6 separate regions of the Homo sapiens genome follow, and regions 1, 2, 4, 5 and 6 are each linked to region 3. The links are contacts of gene promoters, found by promoter capture Hi-C in blood cells and fetal thymus (Javierre and others, 2016). All regions are on one chromosome and are shown on one strand. The core of a region is centred on a gene start or on the middle of the fragment in contact, and the rest is flanking DNA. Distances in the headings are between cores, read along the strand shown. Region 1 has its middle 140 kb from the start of LINC02242. Region 2 has its middle 150 kb from the start of LINC02242. Region 3 holds the start of PIK3R1 (phosphoinositide-3-kinase regulatory subunit 1). Region 4 has its middle 6.2 kb from the start of TILRLS. Region 5 has its middle 54 kb from the start of TILRLS. Region 6 overlaps LOC124900989 (a long non-coding RNA gene).

Region 1 (2,791 bases), core at 150-2,649, 700 kb before region 3:
AATCTGTACACCAAACCCCCATGACACATAATTTGCCTGTGTAACAAATCTGCACGTCCCCCTGAAACTGAAAGTTTTTTTTTTAAGATGTGCAAAAGTTCTGAAAAAACTCCTCACTTAGAAGATACACAGATGGCAAATAAGCATATGGAAAGATGCCCAACATTACATGTCACTAGATTATTGCAAATTAAAACAATGAGATACCACTACCCACATACTAGAATGGGTAAAATTCAAAATACTGACAAGACCAAACCACTGGCAAGGATGTGAAACAGTGGGAACTCTCATTCGTTGCTGGAGGGAATGCAAAATGGTATAGTCACTTTAGAAGGCAGTTTGGCAGTTTCTTACAAAGCCAAACAGTCTTGCCATACAATCCAGCAATTGGACTTTGAAGTATTGATCCAATTTAGTTTAAAACTTATGTCCATACAAAAACCTGCACAGATGTTTATGGCATTGTTACTCATAATGGCTAAAAATTGGAAGCAACTAAGGTGTCTCTCAATAGGGGAGTAAATAAAGGAACTGTGTTAAATCCACACAACAGGATATTACTCATCTCTTAAAAAAAATGAGCTATCAAGCCATAAAGAGACATGGAGGAAACTTTAATACATGTTGTTAAGTGAGAGAAGCCAATCTGAAAAGGCTATACTATATTATATGATTCCAACTATATTATGTTCTGGAAAAGGTAAAACTATAGAGACAGGAAAAAAAGATTAAGTGGTTGCCAGGGGTTGGTAGGTAGGTAGAGGGATGAATAGGTAAAGTACAGACAATTTTTAGGGCAGCAAAAATTATTCTGTATGTTGCTGTAATGGTGGATACATGACACTAACATTTGACAAACCTATGTAACTGCACAACACAAAGAGTGAACCCTTGATGTCAACTATGGATATTCATTAATAATAATGTAGCAATATTGGTTCATTAGTTTCAACAAATGAACCACATGAATGCAAGATATTAATCACAGGAGAGATTGTGTGTGAGAGAAGGGTTATATGAGGACTCTTCTCTTTAAATTTTCTATAAACTTAAATTTTCTCTAAAAATAAAGTTTATTAAAAAAGAAAAAAATAATAAAATAAATGCAAAAATCAACAAGTCAGAAGACAGAAATACTATAAAACTAAAAGCTGGGTTTTTGAAAAATAAAACAATAAAATAGATAAGCTACTAACCAACCTAATTTTAAAAAATGAGGGAGAAATGGTAAATATAACACAATTAGGACAAAAGAGAAATAATCATGGACACAGAAAAAATTAAAATAACTTAAAGCAACTACTTACAATAGCTCTATGGAAATAACTTTGAAAATGTAAACTAAGTAGATGAGTTTTTAGAAAAAAATGCAGGTGACTAAAATTGACCCCAGTGGAGACAGTCTACACAGACAAATGATCTTAAATAGAGAAAGTAACTGAATACACCCCCATAAAGAGAAGATCTCCAGATTGTTTCATGGAAGAATTCAACCAAGTCTTTAATAATAACATAATTATAATGCTACTTAAATTATTTCAAATCATGAAAGAGAAAAAAATTAGAATTTATTTTTATGAAGTAGGTATTACATTGATCTCCAAAGCTGACCATGCTATACCAGAAAAGAAACAACAGACTAGTCATATGAATTTTGGATACAATAGTCTTAAATAAAACTAAATACTAATGAACAGACTCCATTGGTACATTTAAAAAGAAGTATGAACAAGTGGGTTTCATATTAGAAAAAACATCAAGAGTTCATCCTGTTAATAAAGCAACACTACAAAATCATTTTGATTATTTCCACAGATGCAGAAAAGGCAACATCAAAGGACATTGGTGTCAAGAACAATCAGTAAAATGAATTGATGGATACTTCTGTAATATGATAAAACACATACCTATAACATAACTCTACCTTAGGATCCAGAAATTCCATTAAATAATCATCAACAGATATTGTTGTAGATTCATTCAATAGACTATTGTGCAGTAGTTAATAGGAACTAGCTAGGGCTAAATAGACTGGCTATGCACTTACCTGCTAATTTCTATCTGTGTGACCTTGGCAAATCTGCTTAATTTCCCTGAGCTTTGATTTGGTGTTTCTATCTGTAAAATGGAGATAATGATATCTACCTTCCAGTGCTGCAGTAAGAATTAGAATTAACATATGTGTAAAGCTCTTTGCACAGTGTGAAACCTGGCAGGCACTCAGATGATGATCTGAGAAGTGCACTAATGCTGCCAAGTTTATTTAACTAGGTTATAGCAAGCGGATTAAATAGAGCTTTAATAATAAGGTAAAAGTTACCAGATCCTTTTCATAATGTTGCCTTAGCTGAAATTCATATCTCTTATTGCTTGAATTACAACAACCTCCTGTCTGATCTTCTTGACTCCAGTCTTTCTTCTTATCAAAGTCTGGATGTATAGGGGGAACAGGAGAAAATCAAAATGTGATGTCAAGATTCTAAAATCAGAGGGTTGTGAAATCAATTTAGTAGGCCAAAGCCAGAATTTTAAACAATAAAATAGATTAGAAAATGTCAGTGCATTCTATATAGTAAAATTACATGCTCTTTTGTGAAACTATTTTTTTAAGTTCTATTTCTATGTATGCCTACCGAATTTTGATGTGAGAGCATTTACTGTGGGTGACAAAGTTTGATAGTCTCGGCATATTGTCCATTCTCTATAAGTCAGCTGGAGTGATCTACTCTACTTGACAATATGTCAAGCCATTAGTTTTCAAAGAAGTGACATCTTGTCGGTAATGAAG
Region 2 (3,020 bases), core at 305-2,804, 720 kb before region 3:
GTTTAGAAAATTAATGGTTAGGATTTCAGTGGGGCATGTTCATCAGCAAAATGCTATAATGTTAGAAACAGTATCTACTGTTGGAACCAGGCAGGGGCCTATTATTACTGGTTTAGAATGGCGTATTTTCTTAGCTATATTAATTCTGTTAAAAATAATTCATCTTCCACTTTTGTTTTTCTTTCTCCCATTGAAACTGCAAAGACGTTAAATAGAAAAGCAGTAGATTAAATTAATTTCTTATCTGGGGAGAAGTTATTAAATGTTACACGGTTATAGTCATAATAAATAGCATATGTAATATAGGAAACTTCATATGATTACTGGTATACCTCATGGCATTCTAAGATAAGGTTCTCCCTTGAAATGAAAAATACGTACTCTTAATAAACCATTTGGGAATTGCTGCTGGAAGTATTTGTTGGATTGACTGGAGTAGCACTTCTGTAGTTGACACATATACAGCGTAGCCTTGCCAAGAAAGCCACGTTTTACCATACCACAGAAGTTTTCTTGAGCTTGCTCACTCTTTGCCAACCCAGTTAATCCCCAAAGAGAACCATTTGTTGAGGACAGCAGCTCCCTAACCTCACAGATCCTAGGCTTACCATAGGCACACAGGATTCTGTAGTCAGCACAGCAAAAGAGTCCTTGCAGGCAGCACCAGCTGGTGGCACTGTCATATTGCCATGAACAGTCTTCTCTGATTGGTGATCCCAGAAAGGCAGGAGGAGGAAGAGCCATCACTGGGACACAGGTTTTCTACCACAGCAGGGCAGCAGCTATGTCCATCTATACCAACCACTCGTGGCCAAGGCAGTGCCTGGACATATGTGTTCCTACACTTTCCTTTGATCTTCCGGGGGATTTTTACTTAATTGTCTCATTTCCTACAACAAATCTTAAACTTTCCCTATAGTAGAAAAAGGGGAAACAGTTTTCACCAGTTCTGGCACAAGCTTTGCCTCTGGTGGCATCAGTTCTCTCCAGCTGCTTTGCTGGTCCCACTGTCAGAGGTGGCATGCCAGCTCTGCATTATTTACACCTGGGTCAGGCAGCTTGCCCTCGAACCTGACTAGCTGACGGGGCAACCTGGGAGTGGAACTCGACGCCATGATCTGCAGCTCCTGCGTGTGATTTGAGATGCCAAGCATGTGTGCACAGTGTCTGTAATGAATCATCTTTTTGTATTGTGCTGGTTGGGCCTTGTCTTGCCAAGCACCACTTACAGCCTTTGTTGGCGGGGCCTGTTACCTTCGCTTACACCACATGATGTGCTTAAGGATCACTTATCCAAGCAACATGGCCTCTCTTCACTGAGGCAACCGAACCTCTTACATTTCAATATCTCTCCGACTGGTGAAAAATAAGCCCTTCAGCAGGGCCAGTGTCTTTAGAGCTCAGAGCCACACTGCTCTGCAGCTCTGCAGGCTTTGCTGAGTCCTTTGAGGGGATCAATAGGAGCCGGGTGGCATGGTTCCTGGCCCTGGCACGGACCCTTCCCGTAATGTGATAATCCCAGCAGGCCGGCCCTGAGGAGGAGGCGGCCAGCATGCTGTCCTTAGAAATCAACTTCTGACCTCCTGGCTTTCTTCCCCTTTCCCCAAAACTATTTTGTTTAAAATGCTAGCTTCTCTGTCATAAATTATTCTTTAGTTAAGGGGTTTGGCTCCTGTGTGAGTTACTGTGGTTTGAGAAGAAAAAGGAAAAAGAAAAAGGAACATCTTAGTGTAGCCAAGACCCAAACCCTAACCAAGAAAAAGTGGAAACAGGCTGGGAAAGGTAAAGTAGCAGGCAGGGAGTGGGTTTTTATTCACACGCTGTTTTAAACGGTGCAGCTCATTACTTGTTGATAATGTGCATTTTAGAAGTGTCTTTTCTGTACCCGAACTTCTCCAGGGAGTGGGCTAAGAAGAATATGCGTTTTGATGGTAGCAGTGGATTCTTTGGGTTATCACCCTGCTTAGAGCTGCTTCTCTAACATGCCCCTGAAAGTCCAGAAACAGGCCAGGGACCAGAACTTCTCAGACAGAAGTTTTCCTGAGGTCCACAGAGATCATGGCCATGAGTAGAACAAGAGCAAGTGGCATGGATCCAACAGTGTGACCAGGAGAGCATGTCAGTGGCATCTCCACTTGATTTTGCAGAGAAAGCTTTTGTTTGTGATTTAGCTGGCATTTTCCGTGCCATTACTGGTTGTTCAGCAGGAAAACAAAAATTAACCCAATGTCCAATCCAATTTAATGTTTTACTCTTAATTCCAATCATTTAAAAACTCCCTTCACATAGTATAAAGTCTCTTTTGAATAAAAATGCTCAGTCTTTCCAAAGCCTCCTCCTCCCTCATTGCTCTCTTTTCAGTGGCCTCTGGTTGTGTGAGGCCTTGGGAGGAAATAGGCTCCTAGCTTCTGGCTTACCCTTATGCATAGTGACTGGTAGTAGCAGCAGGTCTCCTAGGCACTGTGCCTTGACCCCCGGGTGGTCCTGGCCTCACTGGCTCCATATTCTGCAGCAAAGAAGTATGTGGCCTCTTCTTTTGGCTTTGAATGTTTCGCGGAGCCTCCACCACCTTCTTGTTGCTTTGGCCTCCCATCATGCTCCCTAGCTGTGGAGCTTCACCCTCTGGCCTCAGTACCCCCTGCCTTTGCAAGAGCACCTTGCCTGTCCCTAGTAGGGTCCCCAGCAGGCCCATTCTCTCCCAACTCAGCATGCAGGCTACTGGGGGTTGAGACCAGCTGAAGAGCCAAGCTCAGGGCCTCTCTTGACCCCACTGGGATGCCTTATCTGGCTTAGGGGTACCTGGCAGCCTGAGAGGTAGCACCTTCTCAGAGACCATGGTGGGCAGCCAGGCAAAAGCCACCTGACTTCTTTGTTCTGTCTCATGTCTCCCACCATTGGGAACAAAACCCAGGGAGGGGCAGCCAGAAGACACATGTCTGATTGCTGTTCCTTCCTGCCTAGGTGTCGCCTTATTTTTTCCCAGGGAAGAGATCAAGGAGTGAAATATCCCTGCATTTCTG
Region 3 (2,961 bases), core at 88-2,587:
CACCAGTGTCTGAATAGCCTAAAGTGGAGCTTACTTTTCTGTTAGGTGAGTCACCTTTAAAAATGATATTTTTTAAGGATAAGCGATGAATTTTAGGACGTTCTTCCCTCTACTTCCAACGTCCACAAGAATAAACCACCAAATTCAACGTTTTACAGAGGCCAAGTGCTTAGGTTTTGTGTGTTTGTTTTTAAGAGTTTTCTTGCAAGGAAACTGGGAGGGAACTATAAAAGGGCTTTAGGCAAACAGGGTGGGCGGGTGCAGGGCTTTAAGCTGCAGAAAGGAGAATCTGGAAAGAGCTTTTAGGAAGCAGATTCTCACATGTTTTAATATGAAAGAGTGGCACACGTGGTGCTGGCATTCCATCTTACCATCAGTGGAAGGTTTGAACCAACATCAAATTTTTCTGGAGCAACTTAGGTAATTATTACTTGAAGAATATGCATTTCAAAACTAACACCTTTAAGAGACAATGTAATTCACCTGCGCTTCCCCGCCCCCCCCGCCCGCGCCAACCCCACCCCCCGCCAACCCCGCCCCCGACTCCGCGAACGCCGAGGGGCCCGTGGTCTGCCTGAGTGACCTCCATTTGCTCTGTCATCTCAGGACTAGAAGCCATCAGCCAGCGTACGCCCTCAGAAAACTCTCTTCCCTTCTCGCGGGTCCGCCTGGCTCCCGGAGGCGGCGGTGCCAGGCTGCCGGAGTTAGCCAGCGGCAGGCTGCGGGCGCCCGTCCCTCCGGTTCACCCTTTCACCCCTCCTTCACCCCCGGAGCGCCAGGCGGGTGCCGCGGGTTTTCCGCCCACTCGGAAGGCAGTGCTGGCGAGACCAGGAATTGCAGGGCCTCTCCGCTTTGGCGAGCTCTGGAATCCGAGTCCTCCCCACCCCAGCCACTCTGCTGGGGCGCTAGGGGCTCGAAAAAGCCTGGGGTTGGCTGAAAGACACTCGGATTAGAGACGCAGCCAGCCTCCAGGGAGGTCTGAACTTGTCTTCGACCTCCCCGAACCCCTCCGCCTCTGCGCTGGGAGACGCCCAGCAGCCGGGCGGGCCCGGGACGTGTAGAGCCAGAGCACTCCGCAGCGGAGGCAGCGCGCGGCACGGCCGCCCGGGGCATCCCCGCGGCTGGGGGGCGGAAGGCGAGGGCGGTGGCAGGAAGGGTCCGCCAGGCCTGAGCTCGCTCCCCCACTGCCAGCCGCCGGCTCGGAGGCCCGAGCCGTGCGGACGGAAAGGGGCGGAGCCGCGGGCTCTGGTTGGTGTGGGCTCGGGGGCGGGGCGCGCGGGGCCGGGCCGGAGGCGGGGCTAGCGCCGGGCGCTGGAGCTGCGGGCGCACGGAGAGGAGTCGCCAGCAGCTGGAGCGGAGTTGGAGGAAGCAGCGGCAGCGGCGAGGGCGGCAGGCTAGCTGTCGGAGACGGCAAGCACGGATCGGGCACGGCCGGCGGGTCGCAGCCGGGCTGGAGGCCGGTCGGAACCGAGCGGGCAGGAGGCCACCGCTGCAGCGCGGGCCCCGCAGAGGAAGGAAGCCGGCGGGCGGGGTAGGTAGGCAGCAGCAGCCCCGGGTGTGTGTGCTCGGGCGGGGGAGGCGGTGCATGTGTGCACGGCTGCCGCGACTCTCTTCCTGTCACTGGCAGCGGCTTCTCCTTCTGCAGAGCCCCGCCGGGGGGAAGCGGGCTGGCCACCGGCCCTCCCCGCCTCCGGCATCTCCTGGCCGCCGGGCAGCACTACCCCCGCGCGCGGCCGGCGTCCTGTGAGATCCCCGCCATCCTGACTCCCGTTTCCCCCGTCCTCCTGCGAGCTGGTCCTGCACGCCGCCGGTCGCATTTGCCCCCGGAGTTGCCGACGAGCTCGGGCTTCCTCCCACCCTCCGTCACCGCACACTTCGGAGGGTCCCCGCTGTCGCCTTGCTGCAGTTTTCCGGGGCCCCTCACCGGAGGAGAGCGCCCTGGCCGCTGCCTTCGTGTTGCGGGAAGGAGCGCTCCCTTCCCCCGTGGCCCTCCAGCTGCAGCCAGGGTCGCTGCCCGGGCCCTTCCCGGGGCGGGCGAGGCGGCGGTGGTCCCCGGAGCTCGTCCCCTAACCCCCGCCTTCCGAAGTTTGCCGCCCTCCTCTTCCGGGGTGGGGGAAGTGCGCCTCGGGGCGGTTGGTCGCTGGGGCCCTAACTCAGCGTTTATTGCCAGCCAAGCTTGGGCAGGTTGTTGGAGGCATATTTAGTGGGGTCTTGGAACCGCCCGGAAATCCAGCTTTTGGAACGTGGGGCGAGGCGGGAGGGACCTGCCCAGCAATATGGAGCCGGCTGGGGAGAGCCAGGGAGCCTGCAACCCGGAGCTAAAATATCGTGGGCAATTCTCTGGAAACCACAGCTCTAACCTAAGCTCAGAAACTGCCCCTCAGATCACAAGACAAAGAGAACAGAAAACCTCTGGCCAGGCACTCCTGTACAGAAATACACTTTGATAACCAGAATTGGAGCCTGAAATGCAAGGATATATGCAGAATGGCTGTTACGTGTTGAATGCAGAATGTGTGTCAACTGGGTTTGGGGGAATTCTTCTGTTTCCCGGGGCGCTATTAATATCGGAAAGGTCTCACTTCCACCGTTAATCCCTTGAGCTGCAGCGCTGTTGGTGTCCGAGTGTGAGTCTGCTCTTTATTTGGGGGCTTCATGATTTTAGGTTTTTTTTCTTTTTTCTCTTCTTTTCCTCTTTGTCAGCCAGTGCGAAGTACCAATGGATAAAGCAGTTCCGGGTTTTGAATGCAACATAAGATTGTCATTTTGGTGTGATGAGGCTCAAGTTTTAGTAATCAGGAGGGATATTCACAGAGCTTATTGGTCAAGGCTTGATGTGGAGTTATATTTTAATGCTTCATTAGTTCTGTTACGTTTTGGCAACCTTAAAGATGGTTAGATATTAGCTAGGAAGGGTTGGAGTGGGCAGACAGGTTCATTTCTTAAGCAGGTTATTAGAAT
Region 4 (2,834 bases), core at 91-2,590, 950 kb before region 3:
CTGCCATCTGAGACATTAATATGGCTTATAAAGCTATAATAATGAAAATAGATAATAGTGGCATAGGAATCAGGACAAAAGTCTATGAAATGGAGCAGTAATTCTAGATATAAACAGAACTATATATAATGTTTTAGTATAAAATACAGATCTAATTTTAAATGAGTTATGGATTGACAGATTGTATAGTAAATATTGTTGTGACATTTGGCTTAATAAATTACATCTTACATCAAAAAATGCTGCATAATTTAAACATTTCAATTTAAAAAATAGTTTGGAAGTACAAGAAGAAAATTTAGGTGAGTATTTTTATAACTTTGAAGTAGAGATTCTTTTTAAAGATATCAACAATAGAAATCAAAGAAGAAAGACAAAAATTTAAGTTATCTGCAATTAAAACAATTAAAAATTAAAAGAAAATGAAATAATCTGGGGAAATATACTGGACACATTATTTTGGCAAGCAATTACTATACAACAAGCCCTGAAAGAAAAATAAACTATTGACATGAGTAGGGATTTCACAAAAGGCGTGATACTAATCCCAAAGAACATAGGAAAAATGTTTCACCCAGTAATAATTAAGGAAGACAAATAAAGCGTCGGTGAGATCTTATTATTTCCCCATTCAAATTGGCAAAGACGATAAAATGCCTATATCCAATGCTGATAATTGTGTGCAGAAAAGGGGGGTTTAATACATTGCTGTGGGAATGAACATTCATATACTTTCGCCAGGGAATTTGGCAATATGTGAAAAATGTACATTTCGTTTCTAGGAATTTATCCTAAAGAGATAAAAGTGTGTGTAAGAATGTACCTGTTAGAATATTTATCACAGTACTCTGTATAAGACCCATGATGTCCAAGAATTGCTTACATACATTATGGTACAGGGATAACCATGGAAACCAGTATTAAATATGATGTGGTAGAAATGTATTTATTGATGTAGAAAGACCTCCACAAGGTATTTCAAATGAAAATACAAAGCTTATACAACAGTACATGAAGCATGATCTCCATCCTCCTTTTTTGTTAAATTGTGAATATATGTAGAGTGTATGTTTGTAGAAGAGATTTTGTAAAGTTATCCCTGAGCGAATATGGATATACAGCTGACCTTGAACAACACAGAGGGTAAGAGAGCTGACCCCAACCACAGTTGAAAATCCTAGTATAACTTTTGATTCCCTCCAAATTTAGCTATGAATAGTCTACTGTTGACTAGAAGCCTGACTGATAGCATAAAGAACTGATTAACACATATTTTGTATGCTATATGTATTATATACTACATTCTTAAAGTAAGCTAGGGAAAAGAAAATGTTAAGAAAATCATAAGGAAGAGAAAATATATTTACCATTCACTGAGTGAAAGTGGGCCATCATAGAGGTCTTAATCATCATCATCTTGTTGAGTGGGCTCAGGAGGAGGAAGAAGGGAAGGGTTTTGGGCGTGCTGTCTCTGGAGTGGCAGAGGGGAAAGACAATCCACTTGTAAGTGGGCCCATGCAGTTCAAACCATGTTGTTCAAGGGTCAGCTATAGTTGTTTTTGTTCTCCTTTTTAATGTGGCTAATTAAAAAAATTTCTATTATCAACCTATTTGAAAGTGTGGGCTCTGGATTCAGGTGGACCTGTGTATATCTTGACACCAGGAGAGTTAACTAACATAACCTGAAGCTTTCAACTATAAAACGTATATGCAGTTGTACACAACATAATGACATTTTGATCAATGACAAAATGCTTATACATAGGTGTATCATATGCTTATACATAAGATTATAAAGGAGCTGAAAAATTTATATCACACAAATACTTACCATTGTGTTACTATTTCCTTACACTATTTAGTACAGTAACATGCTGTGCGGGTTTTCAGTCTAGGAGCAATAGGCTGTACCATATAGCCTAGGTGTGTAGTAGGCTATATACCATCTAGGTTTGCATAAGTATACTCCACGATGTTTGCACAACAACAAAATTGCGTAACAATGCATTTCTCAGAACATATCCCTGTCATGAAGTGACTCGTGACTATATTTCTTATTTCTCGCCTGTGTCAAAGAGTGTCACCATGCAGGTTGCCAACAGCCAGGGCAATGCAATGATCACTTTGGGAGGATGATAAAACTACCCTGAAATTACTGTTTCAGGGTATAATTCCTGAGAGTGCCACATCCTCTACAGTTTCAGTTGATCAGCTGGGAAACTAGTTGATTTTGGAGAAAAATAGGCTAGGAATAGCATCTGTAAACACTTTTAAGTAGTTTTAATGTTTTCCTACATGATGGATAAGCAAGATATAGCATATTAAAGCAACAGCGAGAGAATTTAAAAATTTGATTTGCTTCAAAGGGTTTGTGATACAAACACAGTGCATGTGATTCCTTCTGAAATATGCCCTGAAAGGGGCAGGAACCAGTCTGTGGGTTATTTATCCCCAAAGGTGTCTTTGTTCAGACCCATGGTCACGCCATTCATGTTTCAAGAAATAATATTTTCCAAAGTGGTGCCTCTTAAGCTTTTGTTTAGTTATACTTCTAGTTCTCTGGGGCTGAAGGTAAGAAGGGAGGATTAATTATGCCTCAGATGAATGTCCTTTTGCCATTAAACTCTTGGCTCCTTACTCTGCTTTTCTTCTCTTGCTCAATTTCTTCTTTCTTCACCTTATCTGTGAAACACATTAATCTCCTATTATCAGTTTTTCATGCAGTAATAGATAGACTTGACTGTTATTGAGGAATGCTTTATCCACACTTTTTTCATATTTTTCATGTGCATAAATGCATTCTCCCATCTGAAGGTTGCAGGGAGCAGGGTGAT
Region 5 (2,705 bases), core at 86-2,585, 890 kb before region 3:
AATCAATGAATAATAAGAAAAAATATATATTTTTTTCTGTGTAGAAGGAGGTTAGTGTTATTTAGGAATGGAATAATAAGCCTCTGGGTTTTGTTTGATTTCTGTTTTTCTATGTCTGGACAAGACTGAGACTTGTATTCACAGTATCCTGTGGCATCAATCACATTCTGCTTTGTACTGAGGCTGTTTTGCAACAGTCACTGAGATGGTTTGGCTCTGTGTCCCCACCTAAATCTCATCTCAAGTTGTAATCTCCACGAATTTTAATCCCCATGTGTCAGGGCAGAGATCTTGTGGGAGGTGATTGGATCATGGGGACGGTTTCCCCCATGCTGTTCTCATGATAATGAGTGAGTTCTCATGAGAAATGATGGTTTTAAAAGTGTTTGGCGGGTCCCCCTTTGCTCTCTGTCTCTCCTGCCGCCATGTGAGATGTGCCATGCTTCCCCTTTGTTTTCTGCCATGATTGTAAGTTTCCTGAGGCCTCCTCAGCCACGTGGAACTGTGAGTAATTAAACCTCCTTTTAAAATAAATTACCCTGTCTCAGGTAGTATCTTCAGAGCAGTGTAAAAATGGACTAACACACTCACTTTTTTTTTTTTTTTTTGACGTAGAGTCTCACTCTGTTGCCCAGGCTAGAGGGCAGTGGTGGAATCCCAGCTCACTGCAACCTCTGCCTCCCAGGTTCAAGCAATTCTCCTGCTTTAGCCTTCTGAGTAGCTGGGACTACAGGCATGCACCACCACATCTGGCTAATTTTTGTATTTTTAGTAGAGATGGGGATTCACGATGTTAGCCAGGCTAGTCTTGAACTCCTGGCCTGAAGTGATCCGCACACCTCGGCCTCCCAGAGTGCTGGGATTACAGGAATAAGCCACTGTGCCTAGCCTACACTCGCTTTTTCACCTAGATTTTAATCTGCTTGAGGTCAGTGATGGTTTGTAGTATCCCTTACAGAGTCTTGAATTTAGTAATTCATGCTCTTGATTGCATAATAACTGAAATTTCTAGTAAATTATCCAAGGTTAGCTAAGGTTGCATTTTAATTTCCTCAGGACTCTGAAGCTTTGTAGAAGCATTCTGACACCTTGCCTTGAATCACATTTCAATAAATATTCTTATAAACTATTTCCAAGGAGGTGAACTTTTTTGAGTGTCATATGTAAGGAACCATATGAGAATAACATTAGCACCCCCAGTGACACTAAAGATATGTTCCAAGCATGCCTGATTACAAAGCCCATTGATTATGTCTGCAAATGTCCTGGATCTTTGAAGAAAGTATAACCACTTATATACTTGCTTCCTTTGAGCAGAGTCCTTTATTTGTTTGGAAAACACTGGTTCATGTGCTACTCTGAAAACAGGGTTAAGACTAGGGAATTGACAGGGAGGATTCAGAATTGCTTCTGGAAAGAAAGGCATTCAAATTCTCTTGGAATGAAGTTTTAGTTAAATCACAACTCTTTATTTGGTCCTGCATAGTCAGCACCCAGGTTTCTTTTGAAGTATAGTCCTAGGAGCTGTTAGTACCAGTGACCTTCTAAAGTCATGCCAAGGCTTAGCAGAGAGAGAGTGCTGGAGCTCAGACTAAAGACTATGAGAAGCTTGAACATATTCTGAGGAGCCGTCTTTGTCTGGTTCTGTTTTTTATGGTTGCTTTGAGCCATGAGCCCCCAGATGTTTAGCTGAGCCTTGAAGACAGTGGTGTTTGAATCAAGGACTCCATTGGTCACCCTCAGCCCAATGGACTCTTCAATGTAAACCAGGTGGAGGACTGTATTACCACTAACATACACAACATTTGCTTCTTTTTATACCTTTGGAGGTTACATCCTTCCTCCTCATTTCAAAATATTGGATTCAAAGGGCATGTGTCTGTTTTTATGTTTCTTTGGTGATGGGATAGAGATATGTGTGATCACACGTATTGCTTTTCTCCTTTGAATCCTGAACTTTCAAACCCTTTCTAAGGATATCACAATGAGTCCAGGCTGCCTAATACTTCTTCCCCAGACCCTCTCCAGGATTTTGAGCCAAGTGTCCTCAAGGGAACTGTGTACCCATCATGCCTGAATGGAGGAGAGAAAAATGTACCCTCTAGACATTGCAGTGGATGTCATGAATGCTCAGAACATTGATGCCTTTGCATCAATCTTGCTTAGTGCTAAAAGAGTGAAATTGGAATCTTCCTAACACAAATAAATGACAAATGCTTGTGGTGATAAATACCCCTATTGCCTTGATTTAATCATTACTCATCATATGCTTGCATCAAAATATCACATGTACCCCATAAATATGTACAGCTTTTATGTATCCATAATAATTAAAAATAAAAAATTTAAAAATCTTGTTTAGTGCTTTCATTAGGGGAATCTGCCCATGCGGGTGGTCTCCTAATGCATAGAGGTTCCTCGCCACCCCTCCCTGTCCAAGGCTAGATATGAATATGCATGAATTTGACTATAATTAGGTCACAGAAGAGTGATATGATGCTGTGAATCATATCATTACCAGGGGAAATGATATATGGTACTGCTTTTGACAGAAACAATGTTTCATCCACATTTGGAGCTTCTTGCTTTCATTTGCCAGGCGATTGTAAAGGAAGGTCTAGTATAAGGCAGAAATACCTACCTTCTCTTGAAAATAGGTCTCTCTCAGGGACAGACATTATCTGGCATGGGAGGACTTGCTTTCT
Region 6 (3,033 bases), core at 211-2,710, 850 kb before region 3:
GTGAGTGAACTCTACACTACACACTCATAGTTAAGTTATACAGGAGGCCCTAGGAAATGACACACAACTAAAGTAACACAGCCACTTGCAGTATATTATTTCATCTCTCTGATTGCTACCATAATATGTATTGAACTAATACTCACTGATTGCTCCTTCTCTGTGTCCTTTGCTAGTTTGTCCATATCTTCCAGATCTCCATGCTTTCCAGGGCTAGGATCCACTTCTCTCTATCTGATTCTTTTACTGAGCTATCTTATCACAGGTCACCAAATACCATCTGGAAGCTGGTGACTTCCAAAGGTAAATCTTCAACCCAACTTCTCCTCCAAACTCCAGGCTCATATCTAATGGCCTCCTTGACATTTCCTCTTGATTTCTAATAGACTTTCTAAACCCAATATGTTCAAAATGGACTGACTTCCTAATCACCAACCTTCCACCTTCCATCAGCCTATTTCTTTTCTGTATCTTAGTAAAAATCTGTCCAGCTTCTCAGACTAAATAAATTTTGAATTATCCTTTACTTCTCTCTTTTTATTACTGTCCACATCTAAACCATCAACACATTATATTAGTTCTATCTCTAGAATATATCTGGAATCCAACCACTTTTCACCATGTATTTCTGTATCATCTGAGTCTGAGCCACTGTCGTCTCTCATCACCCTTACACAGCAACCAGAGTGATCCCTTTAAATGAGATTTAAAAGACATTACGTTCTGCTCAAAACCCTCCAGTGGGTTCCTTATCACTTGGAACATAAGTGAAAATTCTTACAATGGCCAACGATACTCCCTGCTCCTACCACCACCCTATCTCTTCTTTGACCATATCTCTTCCTATTCTTCGTCTGGCTCACTTCACTCCTCCCACACTCATCTCCCTGCTAGTCATTGAACATATCAGGCACACTTACTAAGAAGCTTTGTTAAAACACAGATTTCTTCCATGCAGAAGGTCTGGGGTGTGACTGGTTAATTTGCATTTTTAGAAATGCAAATTGTTAGAAATACAAACCTAGAAAGGTTCTAGGTGATCTAACTACGTGGTGCTATGGTGATGAACCAAATCTCTGGGTGAGTGGATGGAAGCTCTGACTTACTGTGTTTGCTGATTTCTGTGATGTGAATGCTTCCACCACAGCCAATATCAAACTGATCAACTGGATCACACAATTCCTGAAGATTTAACAATCGGCTATCACGAGTGCACCACCATAGCCTCTGGTCCAGAAGAGCTCTCCAGGGCCTACTTGGGGGAAAGAGTGAGGAAGGGAGCAATTATCTATTGAGCATTTATGATATGCCAGTCACTGTTCTGGTCCTTGACATAAAATGTTTCACTTGGTCCTCAACAAATGTATGAGATTATGTTTTGCAATTTTAGTTTTTTAGAGGAGGAAACTGAGAAGTAAAATTACTTGAGTCACACCCCTGAGATTTGAAACTAGAAACCCAAAGTCCTTCTCCTTCTAAAACAAAACACAACAAAACAATACCTTGGGCCTCTTTGGGTGGCACCATATCACTGAGGACATCACTGTAGGGCTGGGGGATGAAAGATGGGAGAAGCTGAAGGTAACCTATGGCATAGATATAGTCTGACCTTAAAGGTGACAAAATATTGTCCAATTGAGTTTTTAGAAGGAAGCTGTGATGAGTAAACCTATACTTGAAGTAGGTTAACCACGTGGGGGCTGCAGCTCTCTGAGCTAATCACAGCCAATGAGCCAAGTGCAGCTAGAGAACATGTTCCCTTCCCTGGTTACTGCCTGATAATCCAGGAACTAGTAATTTCAGATCAAAGGAGACTGCAAAGCTCATATATTGAGAATTCTGATGCCAGGTGCTAAAATAACCTTCCTTTGAGGGCAAGTAAATTCCCTCAATTGATGGAACAGAAGTTGCTCCAGGCAAAGGTCCCACTTGTTCCTCTGCTTAATTGCCTTGCTACCCTCCTTCTGGATGGAGCTTCAATCACTGTATTTCCTAAGCTTGGAACCCCTGGGACAGGTTTCCACTGGCATGCTTTTTAAGCAACTGGGGTGATTATCCAGGCATCAAAATTGCTTTCCTCGGGCTTTTTTTAAAAGCCAAGTTTAGTTTCTGCTCTTCTGAATCGTCTGGAACACTGCCCTCTGCCTCACCATCCTGTGCCAGTGGAGACCTGGTCTCAGGCTGGGCAGCTGAGCTACCTGGCCTAAACAAAAAGGCTCCAGGCCCTAAAGGTTACAGACCTTATGCTGACCCAAGAGTCCAAGGCAATGCAAAGCAAAGTCCAGGGTGATGAAAATGAAGTTGCATTTTCTGAGCTGCCTTGTTCTTCACAGTTTTTATTAGATTATTTTATGGAGAGCTCTGGACTCTTGCAGCCCCTGAGGCATTTCGATGGAGCTTAAAGTGGCAGAGGAAAAGTAACCCTGAAGAGGAACAGGGAAGGCTCCATCTCTCTTCTGTAGATGGGCAAGCAAAGGATATTCCATTTCTTTCGTCATTACACATTCATTCATTTATTCACTCACTCATTCATTCAAATGCCGTTAGAGCAAGTACAGTGGAAAACTAGAGGAAGGAGACATTACTCTGTAGATGAGAGAACACTTCTTGGAAAGCTTTAAGAATAGCTTTTCGAGATATAGTTATGAGGACATGCTAGGTGGGAGGAAGGGAGAGACCCAAGGCTCAGAACCTCCAAATGTCAGAATGTGTGTGTGTGTGTGTGTGTGTGTGTGTTTAACCCATTCTGAAGGACAAGAATCAAAGCCACCAAAATGTGGAATTCTTTTAACTTGTTATGTTTCATCTAAGCCCTTCTTACAGTCCTCAGGACGGACTGAGAAATGTGCTGCCATTTCCTTTTCTCCTCGTAAGGCCTCCTGTACCTCAAAGCCAAAAAGCAGAAATGGATATAAGGTTTTGTCTGACATGAATCTGCTTAGAGAGAGTGAAGGCTAACTTTTGGAGTTCATATGACTACTTCTTACCTGCAGGGGGTTCTTTGAGAGGACCTAATAACAGAGAATCGAAATG

What was found. The method cuts DNA at HindIII sites, captures the fragments that hold promoters and counts their contacts. A CHiCAGO score of 5 or more calls a contact.
Region 1: a contact is called between a fragment that was not itself captured here and the fragment with the promoter of PIK3R1 in region 3, in 2 of 17 cell types (total CD8 T cells and fetal thymus). The highest score is 6.9, in total CD8 T cells.
Region 2: a contact is called between a fragment that was not itself captured here and the fragment with the promoter of PIK3R1 in region 3, in 1 of 17 cell types (naive CD4 T cells). The highest score is 6.8, in naive CD4 T cells.
Region 4: a fragment that was not itself captured here is called in contact with the fragment with the promoter of PIK3R1 in region 3 in 4 of 17 cell types (fetal thymus, M0 macrophages, erythroblasts and 1 more); the score reaches 7.7 in fetal thymus.
Region 5: a contact is called between a fragment that was not itself captured here and the fragment with the promoter of PIK3R1 in region 3, in 1 of 17 cell types (M0 macrophages). The highest score is 5.4, in M0 macrophages.
Region 6: a fragment that was not itself captured here is called in contact with the fragment with the promoter of PIK3R1 in region 3 in 1 of 17 cell types (M1 macrophages); the score reaches 5.8 in M1 macrophages.

The regions. Positions count from the first base shown.
Region 1 is chr5:67,509,870-67,512,660 of GRCh38, forward strand. No RefSeq gene overlaps it. Among named protein-coding and RNA genes, the nearest start is that of LINC02242, 140 kb to the right of the region's middle. The HindIII fragment of the contact is 6,690 bases long and covers 1-2,791 here.
Region 2 is chr5:67,493,186-67,496,205 of GRCh38, forward strand. No RefSeq gene overlaps it. Among named protein-coding and RNA genes, the nearest start is that of LINC02242, 150 kb to the right of the region's middle. The HindIII fragment of the contact is 1,194 bases long and covers 958-2,151 here.
Region 3 is chr5:68,214,419-68,217,379 of GRCh38, forward strand. PIK3R1 (phosphoinositide-3-kinase regulatory subunit 1) reads left to right here and starts at 1,338. Exons shown (of 16, transcript NM_181523.3): 1 at 1,338-1,531. RefSeq lists silencers at 515-734, 955-2,054. The HindIII fragment of the contact is 2,835 bases long and covers 1-2,173 here.
Region 4 is chr5:67,260,399-67,263,232 of GRCh38, forward strand. No RefSeq gene overlaps it. Among named protein-coding and RNA genes, the nearest start is that of TILRLS, 6.2 kb to the right of the region's middle. The HindIII fragment of the contact is 692 bases long and covers 995-1,686 here.
Region 5 is chr5:67,321,109-67,323,813 of GRCh38, forward strand. No RefSeq gene overlaps it. Among named protein-coding and RNA genes, the nearest start is that of TILRLS, 54 kb to the left of the region's middle. The HindIII fragment of the contact is 542 bases long and covers 1,065-1,606 here.
Region 6 is chr5:67,362,570-67,365,602 of GRCh38, forward strand. The region is part of intron 1 of LOC124900989 (a long non-coding RNA gene); the gene reads right to left. Among named protein-coding and RNA genes, the nearest start is that of TILRLS, 96 kb to the left of the region's middle. The HindIII fragment of the contact is 1,070 bases long and covers 926-1,995 here.